Regions from separate parts of the Homo sapiens genome. Here region 1 is linked to region 2. The links are contacts of gene promoters, found by promoter capture Hi-C in blood cells and fetal thymus (Javierre and others, 2016). All regions are on one chromosome and are shown on one strand. The core of a region is centred on a gene start or on the middle of the fragment in contact, and the rest is flanking DNA. Distances in the headings are between cores, read along the strand shown.

Region 1 (2,741 bases), core at 97-2,596, 240 kb after region 2:
CTGGGAGTTGTAGTTCTCACCTTATACTCACTGAGAACGGATACTAAGGGCTGGGAAGAATGCCCAGTTCTGACCTAACCTTTCTCAAAAGCAAAGTCCACTGATCTTCCATTCCCTTTCATAAGACCAATCTACATTAGCCAATTACAGAATTTTATCATATCTGAAATTAATATGAAAGAAATTATACCTCCCATTAGCCTCCAGAGTATATAGTCAGAGAGCCTCAAATACAGGTCACCACCCCCACAGCCTTCTGGGAGCTGTAGTTCTCTATTCTTTAGGTAAAAAAATGGTAACTGATGGTCCCCAGCTTAGGACTTAGGATGGTCCAAGTTATGATTTTTCTTTTCGAGACAGAGTTTCGCTCTTGTTGCCCAGGCTGGAGTGCAATGGCACAATCTTGGCTCACGACAACCTCTGCCTCCTGGGTTCAAGAGATTCTCCTGCCTCAGCCTCCCGAGTAGCTGGGTGGCTGGGATTACAGGCGCCTGCCACCATGCCCACCTAATTTTTGTATTTTTGGCAGAGAGGGGGTCTCACAATGTTGGCCAGGCTGGTCTTGAGCACATGACCTCAGGTGATCTGCCCACCTCAGCCTTCCAAAGTGCTGGGATTACAGGTGTAAGCCACCGTGCCCAGCCAAGTTATGATTTTTCAACCTTATGATGGTGTGAAAGTTACATACATCCACATGAGTCCAATTTTGGATTTTGATGAGATATTCAACACTTTTTTTTTTTAATTTTTTGAGATGGAGTCTCGCTCTGTTGTCCAGGCTGGAGTGCAGTGGTGTGATCTCGGCCCACTGCAACCTCCGCCTCCTGGGTTCAAGTGATTCTCCTGCCTCAGCCTCCCGAGTAGCTGGGATTACAGGCACCCACCACCACGCCCGGCTAATTTTTGTATTTTTAGTAGAGATGGAGTTTCGCCATGTTGGCCAGGCTGGTCTCGATCTCCTGACCTCGTGATCTGCCCGCCTTGGCCTCCCAAAGTGTTGGGATTACAGGTGTGAGCCACTGCGCCCAGCCTATTCAACACTTTATTATAAAATAGGTTTGTATTAAAATTAGCCAGGCGTGGTGGCAGGCGCGTATAGTCCCAGCTACTTGGGAGGCTGAGGCAGGAGAATGGCATGAACCTGGGAGGCGGAGCTTACAGTGAGCCAAGATAGCGCCACTGCACTCCAGCCTGGGCGACAGAGCGAGACTCCGTCTCAAAAATAAATAAATAAATAAAAATAAAATAAAACAGATTTGTATTGGATGATTTTGCCCAGTCGTAGGCTAACATAAAGTGTTCTGGGCACATTTAAGGTATACTAGCCTAAGCTATGATGTTCAGTAGGTTAGGTGTATTAAATGCATTTTTTTATTTTTTGAGACAGGGTCTCACTGTGTCACCCAGGCTGTGACAGGGTCTCTCCAGGCCACCCAAATCATGCAATGGCACGATCACAGCTCACTGCACCCTTGACCTCCTAGGCTCGAGCAATCCTCCCACCTCAGCCTCCTGAGTAGCTAGGGATACAGGCACACACCATGTCTGGCGAATATTTTAGACAGGGATTCGCCATGTTGCCCAGGCTGGTCTCAAATTCCCGGGCTCAAGTGGTTCTCCTGCCTTGGCCTCTCAAAGTGCTGAGATTACAGGTGTGAGCCACCATGCCCAGCCGAAATACGTTTTCGGTTTATGCTATTTCAACTTACAGTGGGCTTCTTGGGCTGAGGAGCAACTGGCTTTGGCATAGACAGCTGCCTACCTCATTCACGTCTGGGGACTTCAGCCCAGCCCCTACCTGGTTTCCTCTTGAGCAAGTGCTGTGCCTCGATGGCGGTGATCTGGGACACAGTAGTGAAGACGTGAGCGCAGTGGGCTGCCGCCCTTTCCATGCAGTATCGGTGGTAGATCTGCCTCTCCCCTGCTTCCTTGTCCACGTTGAACTGGGTGGGAGGGGACAGCAGTCCGGTTAGAAGGATTGGGGAGAAGACTCTGGAGGTCCAGACACTGGGGTCCCAAGAGAAATTGGTGCTGGGGGCTGGATTCCTGGGTCTGAGGTAGGAGGGGTCTGGGGACTTGGACTCCTGGATCCTGGGAGAAGAGGGGGTGCCATCCCCTTGGGCCCCCCAGAGCTTTGGGTTTTCCTGGCATACTCGCAGTCCCCCATCTGCCACGGTCCCAGCTCACGTTCTCCAGGTTGTTGTAGAAGTCCACGGCACCGGCACACAGGTAGCGCCCCAGCAGCGTGGCATGGGTGGTGAAGATGGTTGCTACAGGCAGTCGCCGGGCACGACACAGGCAGAGTCCAACGCCTGCCAACCACTCATGGAAGTGAGCAACCACATGTGGCTTCTCCTCACTCTGTGCCAGGAACTGTGGGCAACAGGGACAGGGCCACTGTCTCCACGAGTGTTGGGAAAAGAATCGGCAATCCCCAGTAGGGACAAGGACTCGGGGAGAGGTCAATCTGTCACCACTACTGCACAGAGTGGGCAGCGGCCCACTGCAGCAATCCCAACCGGACAGGGACCTGTAAATCCCTGAGGCAGCCCAGGCTGGTCTTGAACTCCTGGGCTCAAGTGACTGCCTCCTCAGGGGTTGACAGGAACTGAGGATTTTTTGGCCAACCATCTAAGTCCTGGCAGGGTTAGATTGGACAGACTGAAGTTTTCATGTTCCCAGGTCCTGGACATAGTTTCCAAAGACCCCTTGTCTCAAGGGTACGCTGTCTGCACCCAACA
Region 2 (2,700 bases), core at 110-2,609:
CGGCCACGAGCTCGCGCGCCGTGGAGCGCGCCGTGGCCAGCACGCTCTTGTAGTTGGCGCCCGATGCCAGTCCGGCGCCGAAGATCTTGAGGACCCCCGGAGGCGCCGTGGCGCGGGTAGCCAGCGGGGGCTCGGGGGCCACGCCCGCCGCCAGCTCCGGCAGCTTCTTCTCGCTGGCCCAGCGCTGCGCGCCCCCCGGGGTCCCAGGGCCTCCTGCGCCGCTGGACCCCGTGGTCCCGGTCCCCGAGCCCCGGAAGAGCTGGGAGATGCGCTTGGCGCGGCTACCGGAGGCTCCCCCGGCCGCCTTGACAGCGCCCACTCGCCGCAGCTCCACGTGCGGCGGGGGCGGAGGTAGCGGCTCGCTGCTGCGGCTCCCCGTGTCCGACGAAGAAGACCTGGGAGTCCGCCGGGGAACAGAGTCGCGGGAGAGAGACCCAGGACGACACGCCAAGACGGGGGTGGGGGCATATTAGGAGGGAAGTGGGCAGAGACCCAGAGGGAGGACAGGGACCCAGGGTGGATGGACGGGGCGGGGGTGAGGGTGGGGACAGACGCGAGGCAAAGAGAGAGAGAAAAAATAAATAAATAAAGGCAAGTCCCACAGTAGGAAATTCCAAGAGGTGAGCAGGGAGGGGAGGAAGGAAGGTGAATCAATCCCCCTGCTCCTTCTGTCCCCGTCCCCGTGCCCATCCGGCCTCACTCCACCTCCTAGCCTAGCTCTTACTCCCACCGCGCCCTGGTATCACTGTGCCCCACCGTCTCCCCCTGCCCACCAGCTCGTTTGCCCAATTCAGGATGAGGACCGGAGCCAACACTTTGCAGGGACTGGGCAGTGAACAGGGACAGATGGGAAGCAGGTGTGCAGGGGCAGGAGTCCTGCAGAGATGGCACTCACTTGACAGAGGCTGCGCTGGGCCAGCGCCGCCCCAGCTTCGCCAGCTGCTTCCTGGGGGAATTGATCCACAGGCCCACGGGGAGATGAAGCTTCCCGAAGCGGGGGCTTCCGCCCTCCTTCCGTTCACCAGACAGCATGGCCCTAAGGGAAGGCGGGTAAGGCCCCAACTCCTAAGGCATTCTTGTGGGGATGGGGTGGAGGGAACCTGGACTCCGAGTCAGAGGGAGGAGGGGGCTGGGGCTCAGACTTGCGAGTCCAGGGGGAGGAGAGGGATGGTACCCTGGATTCCTGGGTCCTGGGATGGAAGATGGCTGGGGGACTGAGTCTTGGGGCCCAGGGAGGAGGGGTTTGGGCTGCTGGGTCCCTGGCTCTTACCCTGCTTCGGGTCCGGCACACCCGGAGGCCCTGGCTCCACTGGCCTGGGTCAGTTCCACTGCTCTTGCCTCTGCCACGGCTCCCAGCACTGGGTGGGGGACAGGAAAAGGCAAGAGGAAACCCGGCAGGAAGAGCGGGGAGGGGGCGTCCTGTGAGGAGACCAGGCCTGGGGGAGGAGATCTGGGTAGGGTTGGCCCTGCCCCATTCCTTGATTCTGGAATTACATCGCAGTCAGTTGGTCCCCTCCAGGACCCAAGGGTCCCGGTTTTCTGCCCTTCCTCCCTCAGGCCGGAGCCCATCCCCAGACCTCTCCTCTCGGGGAACCAAAGGCTAGAATCAGTCCCGTCCCGGGGAGTGAGTCAGATGCTTAGACAACAAGATAAATCTTTATTGTTGCCTCGAATCTGTGGCCTTTTCTTTTGGGACCTGGGTTTGCTCGGCCGCTCCACTGCCAAGGCCAAACAGTGAGGATTTGATGAAATCGATCACCTTCCTTCGACGAAATATCCTAGGGGTGGGAGTGGGGTGCAGATCATGGAACCGGTTTGGGTACTAATTGTGTGGGGGACACCCCTCCCAACCTCCCCCTTTGTGACCTTATTCTAGCAATTACCTAAGCCTCGCCCTTCGAAGTCCTCCTATTCAAGCCCCCCGCACTCCATCCCCAGGAAAGTCCTGCTCTCAGGCCTCAGTAGCCCCCAGACCAGCTTCTGTGTTGGGTTCCTGGAAGCCCCGCCCCTTACTCCAAGCCAAGCCTGTCTTCTTCAATGGGTTGCTTACGCAAAGGTAAGGCCGGTTATCAGTGCTAGGGAGCCGCAGATCAGCAGCCCCAGAAGGCGGCTTGCCAGCATTTTCTCGGGCTGCAGAGGCTGGAGGCTTATGGACGACTCCGTGGTCGCCTCCCCCGGGGTTACGATATTTGGAGAAGGTTTTTCCTCCTTGATCATTTTGGGCAACACTGTTAGAGAAAGCGTAAAGAGCAGTCCTGGCAGGGCGTGGAGTTCCTGCCCTGGCAAAGACAAGCCCGTCCCAGTAGCCGGCCATCCCAGAGATAATCACGCCTTCAACAGTGTCAAGCCTGAACACACCCAAGGGAACCCCTGTCCTCGGGGCCAGAGGCCACGCCCCCGGCAGGAAGCCACACCCCGTGCCCCGAAACCACACCCAACAGGAAGTCACGCCCCCATCGCCAAGGCCACGCCCCCGCCGCGGACCCCAGCTTTCCTGGGCCCTGAATCCTACACTTCTCTCAGCCCCACAGCACTGACCTGTGACGTGAAAATTGATGATCGTGGCTGGGCTGGAATTCACAGAGCCCAGCTCGCAGCGGTAGCTGCCTGCATCCTCTGGACCCACCATGGGCTTGGTCAGGGTGGCCTCTTTCCCCTTGGACACCAAGGTCTCCGTATTGTTCCCCCAAACCTAGACCC

Evidence for each region. The method cuts DNA at HindIII sites, captures the fragments that hold promoters and counts their contacts. A CHiCAGO score of 5 or more calls a contact.
Region 1: a fragment that was not itself captured here is called in contact with the fragment with the promoter of RASIP1 in region 2 in 12 of 17 cell types (M2 macrophages, megakaryocytes, endothelial precursors and 9 more); the score reaches 7.7 in M2 macrophages.

The regions. Positions count from the first base shown.
Region 1 is chr19:48,983,663-48,986,403 of GRCh38, forward strand. GYS1 (glycogen synthase 1) reads right to left here. Exons shown (of 16, transcript NM_002103.5): 4 at 2,188-2,373; 5 at 1,799-1,943. Among named protein-coding and RNA genes, the nearest start is that of GYS1, 8.3 kb to the right of the region's middle. The HindIII fragment of the contact is 2,950 bases long and covers 1-2,741 here.
Region 2 is chr19:48,739,251-48,741,950 of GRCh38, forward strand. It overlaps RASIP1 (Ras interacting protein 1), which reads right to left and starts at 1,360. Exons shown (of 12, transcript NM_017805.3): 1 at 1,271-1,360; 2 at 896-1,036; 3 at 1-395. The coding sequence starts at 1,032. It overlaps IZUMO1 (izumo sperm-oocyte fusion 1), which reads right to left. Exons shown (of 10, transcript NM_182575.3): 8 at 2,539-2,692; 9 at 2,051-2,228; 10 at 1,602-1,778. The coding sequence ends at 1,658. RefSeq lists a silencer at 1-95, an enhancer at 1-152 and a cis regulatory region at 1,213-2,638. The HindIII fragment of the contact is 9,865 bases long and covers 983-2,700 here.